4 separate regions of the Homo sapiens genome follow, and regions 1, 2 and 4 are each linked to region 3. The links are contacts of gene promoters, found by promoter capture Hi-C in blood cells and fetal thymus (Javierre and others, 2016). All regions are on one chromosome and are shown on one strand. The core of a region is centred on a gene start or on the middle of the fragment in contact, and the rest is flanking DNA. Distances in the headings are between cores, read along the strand shown.

Region 1 (3,208 bases), core at 84-2,583, 840 kb after region 3:
TCTCTCTCTAAGAAGGTACCCTTCCTCTGTGTTCATCTCCATCACTATACCCACCACATTGTGTTATCAATTTCTGTTCTTATGTTTGCCTTCTCCACTAGACCATGAGCTTGAGACAATCTTTCTGTTTTGTTTTGTGTTTTGTTTTGTTTTTAGACAGGGTCTCACTCTGCCACCCAGGCTAGAGTGAGACCTCTGCCTCCTGGGCTGAAGCAATCCTCCCACCTCAGCCTCCTGAGTAGCTGGCACCACAGGCACACACAACCATGCCCGACTTTTTCTATTTTTGATAAAGATGGGTTCTTGCCATGTTGCCCAGGCTGGTCTCACACTCCTGAGCTCAATGGATCAGCCCATCTTGGCCTCCCAAAGTGCTGGGATTACAGACGTGAGCCACTGCACCTGGCTTGAGACCATCTTAATCATCCATATGTCCCCAGCCAGTGCTGTGCCTGGCATGTAGTGGGCTCTCAGTGCTTCATCAATGTTCAGAGTAAGAAATAAAGAATGTTTAATCAACTAATTCTCAACTATTTGTTGAGTATCTACTATGTCTAATGTATGTATTAAAGTTTTGGGCTGGGACAGTCAGGGAAGGCTATAGAGAAAAGAGAAGATTTTAAATGGGGTCGAAAGATGTACAAGGCTCAGAAAGCAAAGCCACATATCAATAATCTAAATCTAATGTTTGAGCAAATGCTTAGGCTGGGGACCATGGTTAGCTATAAATGGCAAAGCTGAGAAGTTGATTGTCTTCCTCTTGCTCTTGAATTCTATCAGATCAGCTGTTTCCTTATCCAAGAGCAAAGTGTCAGATTCAAGCTGTGTTCCAGGGCATTTAACCTTTCAATGATGAGCATCTCACCTTAACTCTAAGATCATCTCCTAGGACAGAAAATTGTGGAAATGCTTCTAAATAAATTAAAAACCTAGAGACGGTTAGATCATGAGATACATTAATAATAATGAAATGTCAGAAACATGTGCAGCTACATGTAATGAACTCAACAACTGTCCGAAGGTCATAGAGGTCTTCCTGCAAAATACATGTCATTCTGTTTACATCAAACACAGAAAACTCATTTACAAGTGAATGTCATTTTCATCTTTGTTCCATGGCCAAGTACATCTCATTTGCATTTGTTTTTTTCCCTACTGGAGTGCTTGTCACTATTCTACAGCTGGTGTGGGTTGTGCTCAGTACCTGCTACTTACCATAGGCTCAGGCTCTAGTCATCCAGTTACAAGTCTGAATCATAATCCCAAAGACGGTTTTACATAAGGTATTTTTAAATAATATGCATCATTGGGAAATCAAAATTTGGTGATAGTGTTCACAGGAAAAAACTAAAAGTTCAAATGCATGTGCATGCAAACATACTCTTTTCCCATGTGAGCCCAACATTAGGATTTCTATATTGCTAGGCCTGGAGAGGTACAGTTCTATAGCTAAGGCCTCCCAAGGATCCTTTGCCAAATTCCCAAGAGAACAAAAGAATGGGGTGGAGGCCCCATTGTTGTCTCCCTATGTACAGAGTATGATCAAGAGCTAAAGGTAACTCTGAGTTTTCCAACTATGGAGAGAAGGACCAGTTGAACAGTCAGCCAATCATCCCTCTCCCAGACGCTGGTCTGATTCTGACACTGTCCTGGCCAGCTCAGCATCCTCAATAGCTCTTTCCTCACTGCAATCAAAGCAGTAGCACCTTATGAAACACACCTGCAGCCCACCTACAAAATCACTTAACACAAGTTATTCATTGAAGTGTCTTTAAGGTAATAAAAGATTGAAAACAACCCAAAGGTCATCAACAGGAGAATTGGTTAAATCTGTCTTTCTACATCTACACAATAGAGTACTATGTAGCAATAAAAGAAAAAAAAAGTGAGGAGGCTCTCTTTGAATTATCATGGAAAATTTCTCCACAGTATATTAATTTGAATAAAAAGCAGGATACAGAAGAGTGAATATTAAATATTTAAGACAGGGAAGAAAATAAAAATACATTCATTCTTGGATATTTGTATTTACAAAAAGAAAACTAGATGTATACAAGAAACTAAAATAAGTGATTACAAGTATAGATCAAGATTTTTTGGTTTTGAAATTCATAGAATTTGGGGGATCTACTTTAAGAAATAAAACACAGAATTAGGTACTGGTCTGTATTTGTCCATTTTCATGCTGCTGATACCTGAGACTGGGAAGAAAAAGAGGTTTAATTGGACTTACAGTTCCACATGGCTGAGGAAGCCTCAGAATCATGGTGGGAGGCAAAAGGCACTTCTTACATGGCAGCAGCAAGAGAAAAAATGAGGAAGAAGCAAAAGCGGAAACCCCTGATAAACCATCAGCTCTCTTGAAACTTATTCAGTATCATGAGAATAGCATGGGAAAGACCGGCCCCCATGATTCAATTACCTCCCCCTGGGTCCCTCCTACAACACTTGGGAATTCTGGCAGACACAATTCAAGTTGAGATTTGGCTGGAACACAGCCAGACCATATCAAGGTCTTATATAAGGATTTCACGCCAGTGAGCTTCGTGGTACCTCTACCCGTGGTTGATTACCTATGAGCTGACAGAAGTGCACAGAAATGAGATTGGATTAAGACTCCTAGATAGATACCTATTTAGACAGTTTTGTTCTTTGAAAATTGAGTATATTTCTTATTTAGAATGCAAAACCTACCTTTTTTTTTTTTTTTTTTTTTTTTTTGGTAGATACAGGAGTCTCGTTATGTTGCCAAGGTTGGTCTTGATCTCCTGGCCTCAGAGTGATCTTTCTGCCTTGGCCTCCCAAAGTGCTGGAATTATGGGCATGAACCACCTCACCTGAGCATCTCAATCATCTTATTTAAGTTTGGCTCCATTCTGCAACCTTGTGTCTGCAGGGATTCTCCCTCAGCCCGACTTTTTCCTGATGACAATGTGCCTAGCATTCTGTTTTGAGTTTGCCCTTGTATTTCCCTCTTTCTGATCACCCTCAGCTCTGTCATCAATAGAGCAGCTTCAGACCACCCCAGCCCCACCTCTGCCCCCTGCCTGGCCCAGATTTCCAGGAATATAGCCTGCTACATGTGAAAAGAGTTTGAACGTTGAATGAACCACACCACAAATGATCTCCAATACCATGGGATGCTAGGAAACTGGGAACTTTTTTAGGTACTGACTTGGGAATTCAGTGATTCTCTGGCTGTGCACCA
Region 2 (3,180 bases), core at 515-3,014, 560 kb after region 3:
TTGCTCTGTCGCCCAGGCTGGTGTGCAGTGTGGAGCATGGCACAATCTCAGCTCACTGCAACCTCTGCCTTCCAGGACCAAGAAATTCTCCTGCCTCAGCCTCCCGAGTAGCTGAGATTCGAGGCGAGTGCCACCACGCCCGGCTAATTTTTGTATTTTTAATAGAGACAGGGTTTCACCATGTTGACCAAATGGGTCTCAAACTCCTGACCTCAAGTGATCTACCCACCTCGGCCTCCCAAAGTGCTGGGATTATAGGCGTGAACCACCGCACCTGGCCCCATCTTTTATTTTTATATTTTTACATCATATCCATCAGCTTTTTTCCTTTGTGATTTTCTCAGTTTTTATGCTTGATGAACTCCTTTTCCATTCTCAGATTATTTTAATGTAAATATAATTTGGTTATTGTTGGGCAGGGGATATGGTATTTATTACTTCCATTAATGTGTTTCATTTACAAAGAAATTCAATGCCTCTTGAGAATAACTTGAGGACTAGTTGGTGTGTCCTGGCAGTCCCTAAAAAGTAAGAATATGAGACACTGGAGAGAATACATTTTTCTTTGCAAAGGTTCTTTTTTTTAATAGATGCACATAGTTTTGAGATGTATGTGATAATTTAATACATTAATATAATTTGTAAAGATCAAATTAGTGTAGTTGGAATATTCATCTCCTTAAATGTTTGTGTCTTTTTTATGCAAGAACCATTCAAATTCTTTTCTAGCTATTTTGAAATATATAATAGATTATCATAAACTATAGTCACCCTATTTATCTATCTAACATGGTCTTATTTCATCTATCAAACTGTATACCTGTACCCATTAATCAACTTTTCTTCTTTATCCCCACCTCTACCTTCCCCACTCCCTGGTAAACACTAATCTACTCTCTATCTTCATGAAATTCACTTTTTTAGCACCCATATATAAGGGAGAACATATAATATGTGTGTTTCTGTGGTTGGCTTATTTCACTTAACATGACCTTTAGTTTTATCCATGTTGCAGCAAATGACAGGATTTCATTTATTATGGCTGAAAAATACTCCGTTGTGTATATATGCCATATTTTCTTTACCCATTCATCCATTGATGGGCACTTGGGTTGATTCCACATTTCGGTTATTGTGAATAGCGCTGAGATAAACTTGGGAGTGCAAGTGTCTCTTTGATATCTTAATTTCCTTTCATTTGGATATATACGCAATAGTGAATTGCTGGATCGTATGGTAGTTCTATTTTTAGTTTTTTGAGGAACCTACATACTGTTCTCCGTAGTGGCTGTACCAATTTACATTCCCATCACAATGTATGAGGTTTCACCTTTCTCTACATCTTTTCTAGCATTCATTATTGCCTGTCTCTTTTATTAAAGCCATTTTAACTGGGATGAGATGATATCTCACTGTACTTTTGATTTGCATTTCTCTGATGACTAGTGATGTTGGGTTTTTTTTCATATGTCTTTTGGCCATTTGTATGTCTTCTTTCGAGAAATATCCAGATCTTTTGTCCACTTTTTAATCAGATCTTTTTTTGCTACAGAGTTATTTGAGCTCCTTATATATTCTGATCATTAATCCCTTGTCAAGTGAATAGTTTGTAAATATTTTTTCGCTAGACTTTTATTTTACTTATTTTTGTGGGTACATAGTAGGTATATATATATATTGGGTACATGAGATATTTTCATACAGCATGCAATGTGAAATAAGCACATCATGAAGAGTCGGGTATCCATCATCCCCTCAAGTAGTTTGCACATATTTTCTCCCTCATTCTGCGGGTTGTCTCGTCACTTTGTTGATTGTTTGATATAATCCCATTTTTCTATTTTTGCTTAGGTTGCCTGTGCTTTTGAGGTCTTATTTTAAAAAGTATTTGCCCAGACCAATGTCCTAAATCATTTCCTCAATATTTTATTCTAGTAGTTTCATGGCTTCGGGTCTTCGATACTTTCAGGGATCATTTCTATTGCTCATTACAAGGATTCTTAATCTGGGGTGAATCCTCTAAGCCTGTAAAATTCAATGTGCACTGTTCTGGGCAGGGTCCAAAAGCATCCGTGATTCCAAAATGATTAAGAACCATTAGAGATTCTTCAAAGAATGCTTATGCCTGATGTTATCTGGATTCCCTAATATTTAAACGTTAACAATTTTTCTGCAAATGTAGAGCTTGACACCCCAGGAAAAGGAAGAAGAAAAAGGCTAAAGAATAGTGACTGAAGTTTTTAAGCTGAAGAACAAATTCAGCAAAGGATTTTCTGAAGTTGCTACCATACTGAACCCAGACTTCGCAAATGATAACTTACTATATTGGGTGCCAGCCCATATGCCTGTCACTGAAAATTCAATAGATCTGAAAGCTAAATATGACAATCTTTTCACATAATTTAAACTCATAGAATTTCTCAATGGGCTGAGACCTTACAAGCTATCTAATTCTACATTACTCTCCTTCCCAAAGTGTCTCAAACAAGTAGTCAGCAAGCCTATGATTAAGTATATCTAGAGATGGGGAACTTTTTCCTTCTTACGACAATTCATTGCAGAATTTCTCCCTTAAGCCCCTATTTCATGAAGATCTAAGTTTTCCATTTATCTTACTGAATCAGTGGAGCCCAGGTAATCAGACACACCTGCAGGAAATCTGCTGAAACAAACTTTCAGGCCTTTTAAATAAATGAGCTGAGACACAATCAAAACAGCATGTCACTGCCCTGTACAGATTTGTGCTGAAAGGTTTATGAAACAGTGTGAGATTTTGAATACCAAGTGCTCTTTAAAAATGAAACCAGAATTTAAGTTATAAAAATCATGTAGTGCAGTATGAGCTATACTGATTTTATTTTATTTTATTTTTTGAAACAGGGTCTCAGTTTATCACCCAGGCCAAAGTGCAGTGGCATGATCTCAGCTCACTACAACCTCCACCTCCCAGATTCAAGTTATTCTCATGCCTCAGCCTCCCGAGTAGCTGGGACTACAAGCGTGCGCCACCACACCCAGCTAACTTTTGTATGTTTAGTAGAGACGGGGGATTGCCATGTTGGCCATACTAGTCTTGAACTCCTGGCCTCAAGTGATCCGCCCACCTCAGCCTCCCAAAGTGCTGGGACTATAGGCGTGAGCCACCCTGCCCGGCCTATACTGATTTTTAGAACTCCTAAG
Region 3 (2,908 bases), core at 323-2,822:
ATCATTGGGTGGTTGGAAGGCGCCCAGAACCAGATCTCTAAGTGGCTACAGCCACTGGGGAAATGACTCCTCCTAGATTAGAGTCCATTAGCTGGATTCCAGTTTTGAAAGACCTACAAAATCTCCGTGCTTCTTTCTTTTTCTTTCTATCCAAAACTTTCACCTCCTCCAGCCAGGTGTTGCCCAGATATGTAAATAACACCAGAAAGCTGCTGTTGTCCTTCTACGACTATCTTACTGCCATCGGGCGGCAAGGAGGTGGCAGATGTCTGTATTTTTGAACAAACACTCTTAAAGTTGTTCTGAATATCAGCAGAATGGCACACACCCCTCTTCAAAGTATTTATTTTCTCAGTGGCAATTAGCGCCACAAACGAGAGGATGAGTGCCCCGTCACTGGTGTTCTCACTGATTTTTATGGTAGATGAAACAACTCCCTCCAAACGCACCTCTAGGAGCCGAATCTGGTCACCGGCGTACCAAAACCAAGCCGGGAGTCGAGTCTGTAGGGGGTGATTCGTGAGGACAACAATTGTTTTTGGGACAATTTGACTTTTTCTTGATGCTACCTGTTGTGTTTTCTCAGATGAGAGAAAGAGAAGGCGGTTCAAATTAGAGGGTCTCTAAAAGATAATTAGTCAGCAAGAGTCCTGGTGAGCGTTTGTTTAAACAGCTCCTATTAGGGAACCGCGAGCATCGTTAAGTTCATTCATGTAGACTGTATCCTTTCTGTAAGGAATAATCATGTTGGACTTTTGTTTCCTGAAACAAAACCCGACAAAGAGTTGGCTAATGTTTAAGATAAAGGACTGTTGGGAGCTATGTATCTCTATATCAATCATTCTATTTTGCCCTGAAATGTAAGCTTTTCCCCTAGTGTCCCCCTAGCTGCTCCCCATAGGAAAACTCCCCGGCCGAGTTTCCACGGTGAAAAAAATCAGCCCCAAACCCAAGCCATTTCGAAAAAGACGCACTTCTTTGGGATTAATTTAAAGACAGTTATTGTATTTATTTCCTCTGGCAATGAATTCCGTGTCGCCATGGTTTCAGAGAAACGAGAAAGAGAAAATAACTCCCCAAACCGGCCTCGCGCACGCCGTCGGCCAGCGACTGCCAGCGGGATGGGCCTTTGGGCGAACCCTGCCTCCTCCGCCGGTAGACCTAACCCGCAGGCCCGACCTCCGCTGCCTCCGGACGTTCCCGGTTCTGCTGGGCCGCCGCGCTGGACTGAGCGCTCAACCACCCGACCCCAGGGAGCTCGAGGAGCGCGGGTCGCGCACGACGTCGGGAAGGCCCAGGAGGCCGCGAGCAGCGGCGGCAACCGGACAGCGCCGACCCGGCACCCTGAGCTCATTAGGAGTCCAGCGGTCCCGCGGGTAGTAAGATTCAGAGCCCGGAGCCTGGGCGCGCGGAGGGCGGCTCGGGGCCGACTCGTGTCACTCAGCCCTATTGGCCAATGAGCGCCTCGCCCCTGGCCGCGCCAGGCCAATGGGAGGCGAGGGGGCTTGTGAGTGGCATTGAGGGAGGGCGGGAGAGAGGCGGCCCCGGAGTGAAGTTGAAGCTAAACCCTTAAGCTATAAAGAAGTTACGGGGGGCAGTTTTCGGCTTCCAATTAGGAATAATAGTGAACTGGCTTCGTAGCAACTACGGAGGACCAGGATTCTAAAATCACCTCACTCGTCCCAAAGCTTGCATCCTCCTCTTTCTGCCACGCACCCCTCCTCCAATTCATGATCCAGAAAAGGGAGCCGGGAATGCTCTGCTCCTCTCTGCCGGTGGGAAGCGGAGAGGCCGGCGGTGTCGCTGGGTTGGACGGTAGGCATGAGAACAGTTAAGAGATGGGCGCCCCCGAAACCTCTGCCGCTTGTGGGGACTGAAGGTAGGTGAAGCAGAAGACGCCCCGCGCCCGCCCAGCAGCCCCGCAGCTCCGCGGTGGTGTGGGAGAGGCCGCGGCGCCTCCCACCCCCGGGGGAGCCTGCGAGGGGCTGTCGCGAGCGCGCCACCTGTTAACCTGGCGCTGCTGGGCCCCGCTTGTTGCAGCCCCTGCTGGGCAGCCAGAGCGCTGGGTCGCCTTGGGAGTCCCGAGAGACTTGGTGTGTAAGTGTCACTTTTTGAGGAATCCCTCAGACTTGAGACCCAAGTTAAAGAGGTAGCCAAGGTCCAGATCTGCCAAGGTAGGGAGCTGAAAGGCCCCTGCCTCGCCTTGGAGGAATTCTGATTTGCGGAAACCTGCTTTCCTGGGACGTGCGCCCGGCCTGGGCGCGGACTCGGGGATCCGCGGCGGAAGATCCCTTGCGGGTCTTCAGAAATATGTATTTTGTTGTTTGGGCAACTTCCCAGGGGTCTGGAGGATGCGGCTGGCATGGGTGAGGGAATGCCAGCATTATTTGCAGGGGGCTGTCTCGCTGCCGATTTACCCGTTTCTTTAAAAACAAACCCAAAACGCCTGGCTAGGCGCACTGAGGCCCTTTCCGGCCGTGTTTTTGGAATTGGGACGAGTGTGTGAGTACTTGTGGAGCCGCTGATCTCTTATGCTCTGATGCTGTTGTCTTCACAGGGCCTTGAAAGAGTTGTCTGGGGTTCCTGCTCTTCCCAAAGGGGCTCGGAGATACCTTAAATGCCGCGAGACTGAAGAGCAAACGTCAGGGATTATTATGTCGATTTTCCGAGGACCAGGGTTCGCAGCTGGCAGTAGAAGAAAAGGCTGGCTCCTCAGGGGTCCCACTGGCATTTGATACCCTGAACGACCCTCAGGATTGCCCAAATTCGGTGGATCGCCCAAATTCGGTGGATCAGCAACTTTCCTATACTGCATCCCGAATTTTCAAAGAACATATTTTCCGTTCACCCCCGCTGGTCTTTTACTGCCATCAATACACTGTTCTTGGTGCAAATACTTCAGCCTCTT
Region 4 (2,885 bases), core at 117-2,616, 900 kb after region 3:
GCGCGGTTGCTCACGCCTGTAATCCCAGCACTTTGGGAGGCCGAGGTGGGCGGATCACGAGGTCAGGAAATGGAGACCATCCTGGCCAACATGGTGAAACCCTGTCTCTACTAAAAATACAAAAATTAGCTGGGCGTGGTGGTGTGAGCCTGTAGTCCCAGCTACTTGGGAGGCTGAGGCAGGAGAATCGCTTGAACCTGGGAGGCAGAGGTTGCAATGAGCCTAGATAGCGCCACTGCACTCCAACCTGGGCGACAGAGCAAGACTCCGTCTCAAAAAAAAAAAAAAAAAAAAACCGCCTGATCCAGGCCGGGCCTGGTAGCCCACGCCTGTTAATCCCAGCATTTTGGGAGGCTGAGGCTGACGGATCACCTGAGGTTAGGAGTTCCAGACCAGCCTAGCGAAATCCCCTCTCCACTAAAAATACAAAGATTAGATGGACGTGGTGGCACGCGCCTGTAATCCCTGTAATCCCAGCTACCTGGGAGGCTGAGGCAGCAGAATCATTTGAACTGGAAAGGCAGAGGTTGCTGTGAGCCGAGATTGTGCCACTGCATTCCATCCTGGGTGACAGACCCAGACTCCGTCTCAAAAGTAAAAAACAGGCAGGGTGCGGTGGCTTACGCCTGTAATCCCAGCACTTTGGGAGGTTGAGGAGGGCGGATCACGAGGTCAGGAGTTTGAGACTATCCTGGCCAACATGGTGAAACCCTATCTCTACTAAAAATACAAAAATTAGCTGGGCATGGTGGTGCGCGCCTGCAGTCCCAGCTACTCGGGAGGCTGAGGCAGGAGAATCGCTTGAACTCCTGGAGGCGGAGCTTGCAGTGAGCCGGGATCGTGCCACTGCACTCCAGCCTGGAGACAGAGCAAGACTCCGTCTCAAAATAAATAAATAAATAAAGTAAAAAAAAAAAAGGAACACTTGATCCCTGAGAACAAAGTCATCTTCATTTATTTCTCTTTCCAATCACAGGAAAAATAAGTCACAAAACCTTGTACTTTATTACAATGCCACATTGTTCTGTTTTTGAAGTCCTGGAAGAGGTAATAACAGAACCCCGTATCTGAGCCACTTCGCCTAGGTTAGACCCACTCAGCAACTCCCGTGCTGAAGACAGGAGACCGAGCGGCTTGGGCCCCCGGCCAGAATTCTCAAGACGCTCTCGCGAGAGCCTTCCAACCGCCGCGAGCTCTCGTGAACACTAGTTCTCTTCAATCTCAGCACCTCCAAGGGTCAGCACCTCCCCTCCGGCTCCCTCCGCTACCGCGGGCCGGAACTTTTGTCGATAGGAACGGGTTTGCACAGTTGAGTGTTGTCGGCCGGCGTGAAGGAGACTAGGGGGCCATCCTCTTCCTTTCGCCGTCGCCGCCGCGGAGCGGAGTCGAGCCGAGCTGATTTGATCGAGGAGCGCGGTTACCGGACGGGCTGGGTCTATGGTCGCTCCGCGGGCCGCTCCGCCGGCTGGTGCTTTTTTATCAGGGCAAGCTGTGTTCCATGGCAGGGAACTTTTGGCAGAGCTCCCACTAGTAAGCGATCTTCCGTCTTCTCACCTGGGGCCGGTTTTTGGGGGAGCTGTGAGGACGGGGCCTGTGACTCCCCTGGGCCTGGATCCCAGCTCAGTTCCGAGTGCCGGGGTCCTCACGGGAGACCGCAGCGGTCAGAATCAAGATGCGCTTTTCTGAGGCGACTCCCCTCCCCGCCCCCAGCCCCAGTTTCGGGGAGGGAAGGATCTGTGAGGGGGAGGGGTGGGAGAGAGTTTCGTCTCCCGGGAAGGAACGTTTCGGAGTTTAATTTCGGATTCTTGGTTTAGCTAGGCCGCGGGGGGTCGGATAGAGTGGGCACAGGTACGGGAAGTGTGACTCAGCTCAAGACTGTGAGGCTACCTGTTCAGGACAGTTGTGGCGTGCTTTTACCTGGGGTTTCTTCGGGTGATCGGCGTCGTGGTCTTTTGTCATTCACTGTATATCTTGAGTGGATTTAATATTATGAGGAGAGGAGAGAGTCTGGCTTGTTTCTGCCTACTAACCGCTTCTTGCGCGTACTTTATGTCTAGATGGAGTTTTATATTGATAAGGTATAGGGCAGGTGCCCTCTAAATTTATCCATTTCATTAGCCTGTGCTTTATATTTTGTTTTAAAGGCCTATTTTTCCAGTGACTTTGTTTACCTGTTTCTTTAACCTTTTTCATGAATAAGTTCTTGTTTCTGTCAGTGACCATGTGAGAGCTAGAATAATATTAAAAACATTTATCCCTAAATACATTTGTTTAAGCAGGCAGGAAGGTGCGTTATGGGGTAAATTGAACATTTGAGTAGGCTTTCCACTGTATAGTTGAAAGATGAACAGAATTTGACAAGGTATCTTGGTATAATTTTTTATGCTAAGAAAGCATTAGTAAGTAATTTAAATTTCGATTCTGTGAATAGGATCTGTTCCTGATGTTCATTTTTTAGCCCTTTGCAAAGAGAAAAAAAGAAACAATGAACTCAGTAACCTATTTAAGGAAAAGCAGGTTTTCCTCTTGCTATAAAGTGATTCTGTGGAGATGACATGTTAAAGAAGCTTTACCACTGATCATATGTGTGTGTGTGTATATATATGTGTGTGTGTGTATGTATATATATATGTGTGTGTATATATGTTGCATTGTTTTCACACACTGAAATATTGCTTGGGCAAAATTAAAGTATCGAAAGTTTAGGTATTGGAGTTAGAGCTCCTGAAAAAAAAAGTTTAGGTAGTGGAGAAGAGATATTCTGATAAACTCTGAAAGAAGCTGAGAGAATTGACAAGTAGCTGACTGTTGATTTTTCAGTTTTTCAACTTAAAAAAAAAAGATCCTGCCTTATTTTCAATAGTGTTCTCATTATGCTTTCATTT

The links. Contacts are between HindIII fragments. The CHiCAGO score rates a contact against its expected background, and 5 or more counts as called.
Region 1: a fragment that was not itself captured here is called in contact with the fragment with the promoter of SIM1 in region 3 in 3 of 17 cell types (naive B cells, total B cells and fetal thymus); the score reaches 9.7 in naive B cells.
Region 2: a contact is called between a fragment that was not itself captured here and the fragment with the promoter of SIM1 in region 3, in 1 of 17 cell types (M2 macrophages). The highest score is 5.1, in M2 macrophages.
Region 4: the fragment with the promoter of CCNC here is called in contact with the fragment with the promoter of SIM1 in region 3 in 5 of 17 cell types (total B cells, monocytes, naive B cells and 2 more); the score reaches 11.0 in total B cells.

Annotation. Positions count from the first base shown.
Region 1 is chr6:99,621,352-99,624,559 of GRCh38, reverse strand. No RefSeq gene overlaps it. Among named protein-coding and RNA genes, the nearest start is that of PRDM13, 16 kb to the right of the region's middle. The HindIII fragment of the contact is 5,828 bases long and covers 1-3,208 here.
Region 2 is chr6:99,906,185-99,909,364 of GRCh38, reverse strand. No RefSeq gene overlaps it. Among named protein-coding and RNA genes, the nearest start is that of MCHR2-AS1, 86 kb to the left of the region's middle. The HindIII fragment of the contact is 8,733 bases long and covers 1-3,180 here.
Region 3 is chr6:100,463,585-100,466,492 of GRCh38, reverse strand. It overlaps SIM1 (SIM bHLH transcription factor 1), which reads left to right and starts at 1,572. Exons shown (of 12, transcript NM_005068.3): 1 at 1,572-1,879; 2 at 2,558-2,908. The HindIII fragment of the contact is 823 bases long and covers 868-1,690 here.
Region 4 is chr6:99,567,141-99,570,025 of GRCh38, reverse strand. It overlaps CCNC (cyclin C), which reads left to right and starts at 1,366. Exons shown (of 12, transcript NM_005190.4): 1 at 1,366-1,530. The coding sequence starts at 1,499. It also overlaps the pseudogene TSTD3. RefSeq lists enhancers at 1,009-1,058, 1,179-1,468, 1,589-1,668. The HindIII fragment of the contact is 11,578 bases long and covers 1-2,569 here.